Linked DNA regions of Homo sapiens: regions 1 and 3 are each linked to region 2. Evidence: promoter capture Hi-C in 16 types of primary human blood cells and fetal thymus (Javierre and others, 2016). All regions are on one chromosome and are shown on one strand. Each heading gives the region's core, a stretch centred on a gene start or on the middle of the fragment in contact. The rest is flanking DNA. Distances are from core to core; before and after follow the strand shown. Region 1 holds the start of FAM8A1 (family with sequence similarity 8 member A1). Region 2 holds the start of SMIM13 (small integral membrane protein 13). Region 3 holds the start of RPP40 (ribonuclease P/MRP subunit p40).

Region 1 (4,068 bases), core at 1,264-3,763, 6.5 Mb after region 2:
TATGGCTTTTTATATCTCCCAGAATAAAGCCAACAATGACTCTGGGGCTGGGCGTGGTGGCTCACACCTGTAATCTCAGTACTTTGGGAGGACAAGGCGGGTGGACTGCTTGAGCTCAGGAGTTTGGGACCAGCCTGGGCAACACAGTGAGACCCCCATCTCTACAAAAAATGAAAAAAATGAGCCGGGGGCAGTGGCACGTGCCTGTAGTCCCAGTCACTCGGGCTGAGGTGGGAGGATAGTTTGAACCTGGGAGGTCAAAGCTACAGTGAGGAGTGCCTACACTGCTGCACTCCAGCCTAGGTGACAGAGTGAGACCCTGTCTTTAAAAAAACAAAGAAAGAAAAAAAAAAAGAATGACCCTGGGCATTGTTGGAACTCAGAAAACCATACCCCAAAATGAAGACCTCAGAAGCAAAAGATTTTTCCCACCTTCTCCAACCCTCCTGTCTCAATCCCATTCTTCCCCCCACCCCCACCCACAAGGCTAGTCATAGAAACTGGAATCCGTCTTTCCCAAAGCAGGGCATAGAAACCAAAACCCCACCCTTTCCCAAAGCCAGCCACAAACCTAAAAATATTACTCTAACCTCCCTGCACCCCTTTCTGTGCAAATATTGGACATAGAGAAATTATCTGGCAGAGCGCAGTGGCTCACGCCTGTAATCCCAGCACTTTGGGAGGCCGAGGCGGGTGGATCACCTGAGGTCAGGAGTTCAAGACCAGCCTGGCCAACATGGTGAAACCCCGTCTCAACTAAAAATACAAAAAAAATTAGCTGGGCGTGATGGCGGGCGCTTGTAATCCCAGCTACTTCGGGAGGCTAAGACAGGAGAATCACTTGAACCTGGGAGGGGGAGGTTGCAGTGAGCCGAGATCGCACCATCGCACTCCAGCCTGGGCGACAAGAGCAAAACTCTGTCAAAAAAAAAAAAAGAAGGAAAAGAAAAATTATCTGACCTACCTTGTTTAACTGTTGTAGGCCACAGCCCCCATTCCAGAGGGTCCTGTTCCATACCCAGAAGGAATGAATGCTGCAGACAGGCCAAGGAGAATCCAGATAGGCCTTGCTGGGTTTCTTGCCTGTTTGCATCAGAGTGTTTTTTGTCCAGTCATTTTTTTTGAGACGGAGTCTCGCTCTGTCGCCCAGGCTGGAGTGCGGTGACGCAATCTCGGCTCACTGCAAGCTCCGCCTCCCGGGTTCACGCCATTCTCCTGCCTCAGCCTCCTGAGTAGCTGGGACTACAGGCGCCCGCCACCACGCCTGGCTAATTTTTAGTATTTTTAGTAGAGACGGGGTTTCACTGTGTTAGCCAGGATGGTCTCGATCTCCTGACCTTGTGATCCGCCCGCCTCAGCCTCCCAAAGTGCTGAGATTACAGGCGTGAGCCACCGCGCCCGGCCTTGTCCAGTCATTTTTTTATACGGCTGTCCATGCTTTGTTGAACCTAAGCATACAAATACACGATTTCCCTTGTTATCTTTGGGTCTTCATTCTGAAGGCTCCCGTGTCACATAAAACGATGGTCAAATCAATGTCTATGTCTTTTCTCCTATTAACTGCCTCCTGTCAGTGACTTTCAGCGAAACTTCAGAAGGTGAAGCGGAAGTTTTCCTTTGGCCCGGACAGCATCATCATTAATATCATTAATAAATATTCCCACAGTATTTGGCCCTTGTATGTCCTTTGTATGGTGCTGGGGATACAATAACATATCGCTGCAGAGATTTTCAAATGTAAAAGAAGAGAGATTATACTGATTTAAAAGCTAGATTCTGTCCTCACCCTGGAGCTAGTCTGCATTTACGAAAACTTACTTTCCACTGCGGTAGACAGACGCTTTCTACTCCAGCGCAACTGTGCCTTTCCTCAAATCTAGTCTCAAATTTAGGTTCCTTTTCATTTTCTGTTATGGAAAGGCCCTCAGCGTATCCCAGGCTTTGGAGCCTTTTGTTAGTAGTCTGGCCCATGCATAATTTCCCCTTCCTCTGAATTATACATAGCACCTCACTAGTTATATTTTAATACACTTTCCTATGTCTCAGTGGTAGTTTCCTATATTAATATATATCCCAGTTTAGTTTGGCTTTTAATTTCTTTTCTTCTAAGGGGATAGATGCGTTCTGTACCACCTTCTCGAGTACTAATGGTTAACTGGAATGAACACAAGCAACAAACCCTCCGGCCTGGATCCCAAAACAACAGTCGCGGTTCTGCAACAGAAAAGGCTGCGCTGGCCCTGGGACCTGTCTCGGAAATACTCCTCATCCATCTAGTTTCTCCCAGGACAACTAGGCCCAACCCCACGGGAATATACAGAGAGGCCTCGGGTCACAGACTTAAAGCTGTAAAAGGGAGGAGGCGACGGTCTGGTCCCAGTCACCGACCAGCCACCGACTACTAGGGCCCGAACCCGGGACTGCAGACGCACCTCCCCGCCCTCCCTTCCCAGCTCCGCCTGGCGGCGGGCGTTGCTCCTGAGGGGCGGGGCTTCCGCTTCCGGCGGGGGATTGTTGACGCCTGCGGTTGCTGCGGTGGTGACGGGGCTGTTGGGGAGGGGCCATTGGGGGAGGGAAACGGAGCAGTGACAGGTATCCCAGAGGGTGCTGCTGAGGCGACGATGGCCGAGGGGCCCGAGGAAGCCCGAGGCCACCCTCCCGGGCAGGACGATGGCGGAGGGGACCACGAGCCCGTCCCTTCCCTGAGAGGCCCTCCTACCACCGCCGTCCCATGCCCCCGCGACGACCCCCAGGCCGAACCCCAGGCCCCGGGCCGGCCCACAGCCCCGGGCCTCGCGGCTGCCGCCGCAGCCGACAAATTGGAGCCGCCGCGCGAGCTCAGGAAGCGCGGGGAGGCGGCCTCCGGCTCCGGTGCAGAGCTGCAGGAGCAGGCGGGCTGCGAGGCGCCCGAAGCCGCGGCGCCACGAGAGAGACCAGCTCGGCTGAGCGCCCGCGAGTACTCCCGGCAAGTGCACGAGTGGCTGTGGCAGTCCTACTGCGGCTACCTCACCTGGCACAGCGGCCTGGCCGCCTTCCCAGCCTACTGCAGCCCCCAGCCCTCCCCGCAGAGCTTCCCTTCGGGCGGCGCTGCAGTCCCCCAGGCCGCGGCGCCGCCGCCCCCGCAGCTGGGCTATTACAACCCCTTCTACTTCCTGAGCCCCGGGGCCGCGGGGCCTGACCCGCGGACAGCTGCCGGCATCAGCACCCCTGCTCCAGTCGCGGGCCTGGGACCCCGGGCTCCTCACGTGCAGGCGTCGGTCCGGGCCACTCCAGTGACGAGGGTAGGATCCGCAGCCCCTTCGCGAAGCCCGAGCGAGACCGGGCGACAGGCAGGTGAGAAGCGCGAGGTGGAGGCTGGGCGGAGTAGAAGGGTTTTCGGGGGCCTGTGGGGTAGAGCTGGCACGCTTTTTAGACCTGTAACTGCTGCTTCTACTCTGATTGACTATCCTGCCCGTTCAGTTCACTAGCTATCGTTTGTCCAGGCCCTAAATTCCCAAAATGTACAAGGAGGCAATACAGTTTCTTCTTCCTTTAGACCTGGCACTCCAAATTGACTCCCTTACTCATGGGACTAGTTGTTTATTCGTGAAAAGAAATTGCTCTTCAAACCATCCTCTTCCTTTGGTTTTCACGCTCTGCAGTGAGGGCCAAAGCTAAATTCGCAAATGGCAAACCCACTTTTGGAGGGGCTCGACTGGTAATGCTGAAAATTATTCAGACATTGGCTACTTAGGACAGTGGAACTGAACGGATATAAAAGGAGATCGACATGGATACAAGTGGAGTTAGGAAGTTTTGATTGGGTCAAAGCTTCACTTCATTTGATCAATATCTTGTATATTGTGTAATTGTTTTTGCTTCTGTGTGTGAACTAGAATATTTTGAATTAGTTACACTTCTTAGTTTACTATTTAAACTATTAGACTTTTAGTTTATTTTAGTTAGCCACAGATAGATGGGACAAGAACTAGTTGATGCCTCTGATCCCAGTCAGAATTTAGGATGACAGATTGATACTCACTGGGTTTATTTTAAAGAAAGCAAAACAAACTAAAAAACGGGTGGGGG
Region 2 (4,059 bases), core at 1,250-3,749:
AGTAGGAGTGAGGCTATCAGAAAGGAGGAAGCAGAACATTTTATATAGGGAAGAGAATAGTAAAAGGACTCTGGAAATAGCTGTGGCTTATTTTTTTATTTTTATTAAAATGGAGTCTCACTCTATCACCCAGGCTGGAGTGCAGTGGTGTGATCTTGGCTCACTGCAACCTCTGCCTCCTGGGCTTAAGCGATTCTCCAGCCTCCTGAGTAGCTGGGATTACAGGCATCTGCCAGCACGCCCAGCTAATTTTTGTACTTTTAGTAGAGACGAGGTTTCACCATGTTGGCCAGGCTGGTCTTGAACTCCTGACCTCAGGTGATCTGTCCACCTCAGCCCCGAAAGTGCTGGGATTACAGGTGTGAGCCACTGCATCCGGCCAGCTGTGGCAGACAGGATGAGACTGTCTCAAAAACAAAAATAAAAAACAACCATGCTTAGGCCCTACTCCCAGAGATTCTGTTCATTTGGTATGGGGATGAGGTCTAGCCATTCGTAATTTATAAATCTCCCTACGTGATTTGAAATGTGCATCCAGAGTTGAGAAACATTGAAAAGGCTTAGAGCAATGGCCAGGTTTATTTCCTTCTTGTGGGTTTTGCACTAGCTGTTCCCTTTACCTGGTATGTTCTTCTCTAGGTCTTTCCATGAATCCTTGTTGTCATTCAGGACTCAGATTAAATGTTACTTCCTCAGGAAGACCTTCCCTGATCCCCCAACAAGCTAAAATAACACACCTACATTTATCACACTGTCTTGCTATTAATAGCAGTTCCTGAGATTTCTCTATTTATGCTTATTGTCTGTTTTTTTCCAACTGTCATATAAGCATCTTGAGTAAAGGCACTTTGTCTTATTCACTGCTGTATCCCCAGCACTTAGAACAGTGCCTGGCCCCTATAGGTATTCCAATATATGTGAATCAAAGAGAAAAAGGTCCTTTAAAATAAATTATTTTAGTTCTTCCGATGGCTGTTTTCTTTTCTTTTCTTTTTTTTTTTTTTTTTGATAAGAGTCTCTCTGTTGCCCAAGCTGGAGTGCAGTGGTGTGATCTCGGCACACTGCAACCTTGGCCTCCTGGGTTCAAGCGATTCTCCTGCCTCAGCCTCCTGAGTAGCTGGAATTACAGGCGCCCACCACTACCCCCGGCTAATTTTTGTATTTTTAGTAGAGACAGGGTTTCACCATGTTGGCCAGGCTGGTCTCGAACTCCTGACTTCAGGTGATCTGCTCGCCTTAGCCTCCCAAAGTGCTGGGATTACAGGCGTGAGCCACCTCGCCTAGCCCTGACGCGTATTTTCAACTGGCTTTTAATAAAATGTGTTTTAATTATGCAACATAATTGAACCACCCATGAAAAAAGCACACACTGATTTTTTGTAAATATATCTTAATTGCACTGGGTTCATTCTCTTCACAGGAATCTATATTAAATCTGTTGCAAAGCAAGTAATTATCCTTTAATGTATTTTTATACATGGTATTTGTTCCTAATGTTGCTTCTTAGGGAATACAGTTCACATAGTAGGGCAGCTGGGTATGGCAGGATACATTTATTAAATCAAGGGATTGCTGCTTAGAACTTTTGTGTTTGTTTTTGGAGACAGAAGACAGGAAACTGTAATTTTTAGAAGAGTAAAAAGGTATCTCAGGGAGCAAAAGAATCACAGGAAAACTCGAAGGCTCTGATTCCTTCTAAAAGAGGGACACATTTACCCTCTATTCTTCTGGGGGCACCTCTTTAACAAATGAATGTAATCTGGCGGAAGTGGGGAGTTTCAATTTTGGGTGGAGATACAGTAGTTGAGATTACTACAGTGTCTTGTTTCGTAGAGGTGTAAGCCAGTGCGGCAAAATCTCCAAGCTTGGTCTCAAGGAGGCAGCTGGGTCTAACTTACAACTCAGGCAGGTGATTTGAGGGCAGTGCAGCTGTCCTTAAGTCACCCGCGGGCCATTTCTGAAATGCTTTACTTACGAAAAGATAGAACATAACATCTGTTGCAGGGGGAAAATGAGATTTCGTGTCCTGACCCGCGTCTGCGGCAGGGACCTGAGTTCTTCCTCCAAGTCCCAAATAGCCAACCTTCGCCCCCGGCAACAGGGCTAGGTGCACGAGCAACCAGTTTTTCAGGCAGCCGCCTCCTCTTTCCTCTCTCGCCGTACTTCATCGATTACGGCTAGAAACAAAACGACTTTGTATACGGAGTAATGGTTGAAATCTCACTGGCGCCTCAGCAGGACGGGCAGCCAGATCCGCGGCTTTGGAGAAGGCCAGCCCACGGTCGTCCGACTGAGGCGACTTGAGCAAGACCAAAGGCAGAGCCGCCCGAGAATGAAAGCAGCGAAGCCCGAGTGGCGGTGCATTCTGGGAGTTGTAGTCCCTGCGAGACAACGCCGTCCCGACTCCACCAGGCTCTGCACTCCATCTCCCAGCCGACCCCGCGCCGCGGAGGAGGCGAGCTTGGTGATGAGCTGCCCCAGCGGTAGGGGGCCTGGGGCGGAGAAGCCGCTACAGCCGCGGCCGGGCGACGCTGACATCTGGCATCCCTGGGGTCTCAGAGACACGGGTGGACAGCGACGAGGGCCTTGTGGCCGCCGTGTGTACCCGTGCTTACCCTCTGTCCTCCCTACAGGCGCGCGGCGTCCGCCATGGAAGCGCATCCGACCGCTGGGGTCTCTGGGTGCCGCGGCCTCGGCTCTCCGGGGCGATGAGGGACTAGAGGCGCCCTGAGGCCCGCCTGCCTCCCGCGCTCTGGCCACCCCGGCGGGAAAAGGATCGGGCGGGCGGGCGGTCCCACAGTGCCCGCCTTTGCGCCGCCCCACCCCCTGGGGGCGCTGCCGAGGGGGCGCCAGCCGCCCATGCCGCCCCGGCGCCCAGCCGCGCCTGGCGCCCGCCGCTGAAGCGCAGGACGCGCCGCCGCCCGCGCTCACCGCCGTCCGCGCCAGCCGCCCCGAGCCGACTGCCCTTCTGCCCCCAAGATGTGGCACAGCGTCGGGCTGACTCTGCTTGTGTTCGTGGCCACGCTGCTGATCGTCCTGCTGCTGATGGTGTGCGGTGAGTGGGGGCGGTAGCCGCGAGGCAGTTCCACACGCCGGGTCGCTGATCTGCTGGGGTTTTTTTTGTTGTTTGTTTTTTTGAAAAAAACAAAAGGGCGTGGACGGACAATTGTCTTAAAATCAACTGTTGTCCCTTAGCCTCTAGGGCTGAGCGCAGAGGTGGGCCCTTTACTCATGGCCGGCCCTCGGGCATCCTGGGGAGGGAAAGGACAGGCTCCAGGGCTTCCTGCCTCTGAGTGAAACTCAGCCTTGCTTCACCGGCAGCGTCTGCTCTTTCATTCTCACCACAGGCTGCCCAGATTGTAACCTTGGCCTGCATTCGAAGGTGAAGTGATTGATTGGTCCTTTTTCATTTGCACAGATTCTGACCTTAATAATGAGAGGTGTCACCTTCGTTTCATCAGCGAGTGGGGTAGAGTTGGGTTTTCAGCACGCGTGAAATTGTTTACTTAGAGTTCAGCCTTAAACTCAATTCCAAGCAGAGATGTGGAGACCAGGCAGAGCTTAGAAACACCGGCTATATTAAACTTGCAGGGTCGGGTAACCTAACTCTCAGTTCTATAATAATGGTGCTATTTCGAATGCTGTGCGTATTTTCCTTCTTGGAATGAGAGGACGTTCAACTTTTTTCTTCAAATAATGGTAGCCCAATTTTAGATCTTTTTGATTTCTTTGTACATGTATAGTAGCTGATAACCACAGGTCTCTTAGCAAAGTGGCTAAGCAATTGTGAAAATCTAAAAAGTACGTAGAACACGTGTCAGTGAGTTTACACATATTTATAAGACTGAAGTATGGGTTCAGGTTGATGTAATAATGGGTCAGAATTCATACAGATACTATAGGGCTTGTTCATTACACGATAAATGTACAAATTAATACTTAGTGACGCTGTGGAATATATGTGTGCACTTGTGCATATGCATGTGTATGTATTTATAAACTTATATGTTTATTTTATTTTTTGAGATGGAGTCTCGCTCTTGTTGCCCAGGCAGGAGT
Region 3 (4,329 bases), core at 231-2,730, 6.1 Mb before region 2:
TCCTTTCACTATTTTATTTTCAAGGAAATATAGTATAATTGAATATCCCTTGATTTGTTTACCCTGGTGTTATCCTGGAATGAAACAAACTATCTGTCGGGGCATAAGGAATTAATTTATGGACATCCAATTACTAAGAATCTATGTGCAAGCAATGGTGCTCCTGTATGTTTTCATTTTCGAGACAGAAAAATGCAACAGGCGAGTTAAAGTATACATCCCTGACTGCTGTGATGAGCTTGACATCCAAAATAGGTGTTAAAAACAGGGCAGGCTTCAAATGTTGCCACATTGTAAAAGTCATCACTGTCCCAAGGCTCAAACACCAGCCTGTTCTGACTGATCAGGTCACCACTTAACATCTCTGAAACACTGCTCAGTCAAACCTGAGTTATTAAGCTGATCCATTTAAAGTGTAAAATGTTTAATCCCCCATGATAAGGTTAGTTTCTTGAAGTCTCTCAGATATCAAATTAGTTCCAACAACCAATTTAGAAAATCAGTCGCTTCGGCCGGGCGCGGTGGCTCACGCCTGTAATCCCAGCACTTTGGGAGGCCGAGACGGGCGGATCACGAGGTCAGGAGATCGAGACCATCCTGGCTAACACGGTGAAACCTCGTCTCTACTAAAAATACAAAAATTAGCCGGGCGTGGTGGCGCGCGCCTGTAGACCCAGCTACACGGGAGGCTGAGGCAGGAGAATGGCGTGAACCCGGGAGGCGGAGCCTGCAGTGAGCCGAGATCGCGCCACTGCACTCCAGCCTGGGCGACAGAGCGAAACTCCGTCTAAAAAAAAAAAAAAAAAAAAAAGGAAAATCAGTCGCTTCCTGGGCCGAGCCTAGGCAGGATGCTCTGGTGAGATCCACAGGTACGCAGGTGGGAGAGGGATTCAAGCTGGGGAGGAGGCAGTGGTGGGGAGGAGGCGCGAGACCCGCCCTGATTTGGGGAAAAAGCGAGGTGCACGTGGCTGCCCCACAGCCTAACTCCCTGGTCCCGGCCCTGAACCTCGAATCCCTCCCTGGACTCACTCCCAGTTCGGCGGGTTGACACGAGTGAGCAGCCAGAACGCCCCTGACAACAGCTCCCTCCAGACTGGGTACCGCCCCCACGCCCGGCGCATCCTGGGAGTTGTAGTCCTGTAGCCCTGCAAGCCACTGGCTTAGAGCAGTTAAGAGACTACAACTCCCAGCAAGCCGGGCGAGGGCCCCGCCCCTCCGCGTACCGCCGGCGGCCCCGCCCCGCGAAGCCTAGCACTCTCCCCAAACCTCTCTCGCACGCGGGGACTGAGCACGGCCCGAAAAGCCGAGGACAGCCGGACTCACCCTGTAGTTATAGTAGTGCGTCTGCACAAGATGCCGGTGGCGCGACTTGTGGTTGCCGAAGTTGGATTTCTCGCAAACCAGTAAGTGCCGCGGCGCCTCCCGAAGCCGGCGCAGCGTGGCCATGCTCTCCTGGGTTCCTGGTCCTCCCGGCCTCCGCTGGCGGGGCACGCCCCGCCCCTTCCTCCCGCCCCGCCCCTTCCCTCCGGCCGCATACCCGCTGCTGTGCGCCCCTGGCGGCGGTGGAGTGGGGATGGCGGCGCTGGATTTCTGAGCAGTTCTTAGACTTCTTAGGAGCCCACGCAGCCGCTCTTTGGTGGATGTCTGAAGCTGTAAATTCACTGTCCCAGTGGCTGGGAACCTGGCTCTTGCCTTTTCAACGCCACTTTTCCTCCGTCCCCGCCATCCCTTGGAATTGCCCTAAACCCTCTCTGTGGGCCCCGCCTCGGAGCGCCCCTTGGACCCCAGCCTGGCGCCGGCGCATACCTCGGTCAGGCCCCTCAGAGGGACCGCTTCCTGCCACCGTTATAAAAGGAAAACATCGCATGGAAAGGCCCAGTTCCTTTAGTATATGGTCAAGAAATGTAGCCGCACAGTTAAGTAACCCCCTAAGCTGCTTTGGGGGCCACACCCAGCTGCTTTCTGACTTCTCACACTGTTTGGTTCACAGGACTCTGTTACCCATTGGGGACCTCTTGGCCATTATTAACACAGGCCAACAGGACTAAAAGTTTGTATCAGTCCTTCCCAAAACATTAGGGAAGGTTGTGCGGGAAGGTAAAGCACAATTTTTGCCTTACAATAGGACTCCTTTGAAACTACTATTGAGTTCCCTTTTAAATAGCCCTTCAGAACCGCTTTTAATAATGTGTTGTTTCTGGGGGTTAATAGTGATAATTCTCCTAAGTCATTTTTCCATTTCGTTTTTCTGTCACGGGCTTGGAGCGGTTAAGAGACTGCGGCTCCCAGCATGCGGTACGTTACTGATCAGGGCAAAATCAAGTATGTTACTACATGCTTCTCAAACTAGAGAGGCACAGCCCCAATTCTGCACTGGCAGGATACAAAACAGCAGAATATTGGTGATACATCTTCCTGGAACATCAGTTTTTCTATGAGATGTGGAAGAAATGGAATTAAGTAGTTTACAAGGTAAATAATTAAGAATTTAAAACTAAGCCAGTCACAGTGGGTCATGCCTGTAATCCCAGCACTTTGGGAGGCTGAGGTGGGAGGATCACTTGAGCTTAGGAGTTCAAGACCAGCCTGGGCAATATAGTGAGACCCCATCTCCAAAAATAAAAATAAAACTAAGACAAGGCTGGAAAGTCATCTGCCATTATAAACATCAGTAATCTGGCCGAGCACAGTGGCTCACGCCTGTAGTCCCAGCACTTTGGGAGGCTGAGGTGGGAGGATCACTTGAACTCAGAAGTTCACGACCACCCTGGACAATATAGTAAGACCCCATCTCAAAAAAAAAAATTAAAACTAAGACAAGGCCGGAAAGTCATCTGCCACTAAAAACATCGGTAATCTGGCTGAGTGCTGTGGCTCACGCCTGTAGTCCCAGCAATTTGGGAGGCCGAGGCGAGCAGATCGCCTGAGGTCAGGAGTTCAAGACCACCCTGGCCAACATGGTGAAACGCTTTCTACTAAAAATACAAAAATTAACAGGGTGTGGTGGCGCATGCCTGTAATCCCAGCTACTCAAGAGGCTGAGGCAGAAGAATCACTCGAACCTGGGAGGCAGAGGTTGCAGTGAGTCAAGATCTCGCCACTGCACTTCTAGGCTGGGCGACAGAGTGAGACTCTGTCTCAAAAAAAAAAAAAAAGTCAAAATGTAATCTATGACTGAAATGTCACATTTTCTTTCCAAGGAAAAACCTAATGAGAACCTGTTTCCCATTATTTTAAACAGCAGAATTATAAGGCGTGGCAAGTTAATTAAAAAAAACCCTACTAATTTCCTAGATCACAATATGGCAGCTAGATGTTTTATAAATAACAGCTACTAATAACATGTTAAGATGTAAAAGGCTTAAAGCATTGCTTCTTGGTCACCTCATATTTAATGTAATTGTCACCAGACAGTTGCTTTGTGTGTGGTAGCAGTGGCCCAAGACTGAAACATCACGGATGTACCTCTCCTTTGTCGACATTCCAAAACTCCACAAAGTGACTGGTGTGATCCTGATGGTCTACCAATTGTATTTGGAAGCACCGTGAAGCTTTTCCAGCAAACCATTTAGTTTAAAATGTTGCATATTTTGAAGATGCAAAATAAATTCTATCTATGTAAATATCAGCTGAAAAATGTATTGAGAGATATAAACTGCCCTCTTCTCAAGAGAGACCCCACAGAGTCTTGCAGCTTTAAGTCCTCCTCTCTGGCTGCTGATAACCCCTAGATGTGGCGCCTCTTCCCTGAGCGGAGTATCCAGATGACTCTAGTACAAGGACTCACCCCTGACTTCTTCCCTTCTCACCCGCCATGCAATCCCACAGTAAGTCTTGTGGCCCTGCCTGCAGCACGCATCCTGATTGCAGCCTCTTCTTGCTCTCTGCGTTTCTACAGCCAGTTTCAGCCACCTTCGTCACTTACTGGCCTGCTGCCCAAGACTGCCTCCAAACCTTCTCCTTGCTGCCTCTCTTGCCCTCCCACAGTCCATTCTCCACTCAGCATCCAGAGTGATCTCTTAAAAACATGAAAAACATAATATACCCCCACAGCCCCATTTAGACCCTACCACTGGCTTCTCACTGTGATGGAATAAAAGCTTACACATTGGCCTGAGCCTGCCTCTTCAGCCTCATCTCCTTCCCTTGCTTATTCACACTCTGTCTGTCAGATTTTCTGGTCTCTAGAGCTGAAAGCAGTCTTAACTGACAAACAGATATTAGATCATAGAATCTAGAGCACAGGGTATGGAAGGAAAAGTGCAAGATGGAAAAGCCAGAAATGGTTAAAAAAAAAAAAAAGCACATGAAACAAAACATATCTATATG

The links. The method cuts DNA at HindIII sites, captures the fragments that hold promoters and counts their contacts. A CHiCAGO score of 5 or more calls a contact.
Region 1: the fragment with the promoter of FAM8A1 here is called in contact with the fragment with the promoter of SMIM13 in region 2 in 1 of 17 cell types (non-activated CD4 T cells); the score reaches 6.2 in non-activated CD4 T cells.
Region 3: a contact is called between the fragment with the promoter of RPP40 here and the fragment with the promoter of SMIM13 in region 2, in 3 of 17 cell types (naive CD8 T cells, fetal thymus and non-activated CD4 T cells). The highest score is 6.4, in naive CD8 T cells.

What each region holds. Positions count from the first base shown.
Region 1 is chr6:17,597,789-17,601,856 of GRCh38, forward strand. FAM8A1 (family with sequence similarity 8 member A1) reads left to right here and starts at 2,514. Exons shown (of 5, transcript NM_016255.3): 1 at 2,514-3,333. The coding sequence starts at 2,622. It overlaps LOC102724591 (a long non-coding RNA gene), which reads right to left and starts at 1,188. Exons shown (of 5, transcript XR_007059485.1): 1 at 965-1,188. RefSeq lists a silencer at 2,373-2,852 and an enhancer at 3,919-4,068. The HindIII fragment of the contact is 5,181 bases long and covers 1-3,808 here.
Region 2 is chr6:11,091,335-11,095,393 of GRCh38, forward strand. SMIM13 (small integral membrane protein 13) reads left to right here and starts at 2,500. Exons shown (of 2, transcript NM_001135575.2): 1 at 2,500-3,055. The coding sequence starts at 2,980. RefSeq lists enhancers at 2,107-2,647, 2,190-2,399, 2,648-3,189, 3,070-3,189 and a silencer at 2,660-2,969. The HindIII fragment of the contact is 2,504 bases long and covers 1,863-4,059 here.
Region 3 is chr6:5,002,557-5,006,885 of GRCh38, forward strand. RPP40 (ribonuclease P/MRP subunit p40) reads right to left here and starts at 1,481. Exons shown (of 8, transcript NM_006638.4): 1 at 1,324-1,481. The coding sequence starts at 1,446. It overlaps LYRM4-AS1 (LYRM4 antisense RNA 1), which reads left to right and starts at 1,260. Exons shown (of 4, transcript NR_126015.1): 1 at 1,260-1,403. RefSeq lists silencers at 1,082-1,331, 1,462-1,591. The HindIII fragment of the contact is 5,117 bases long and covers 1-3,549 here.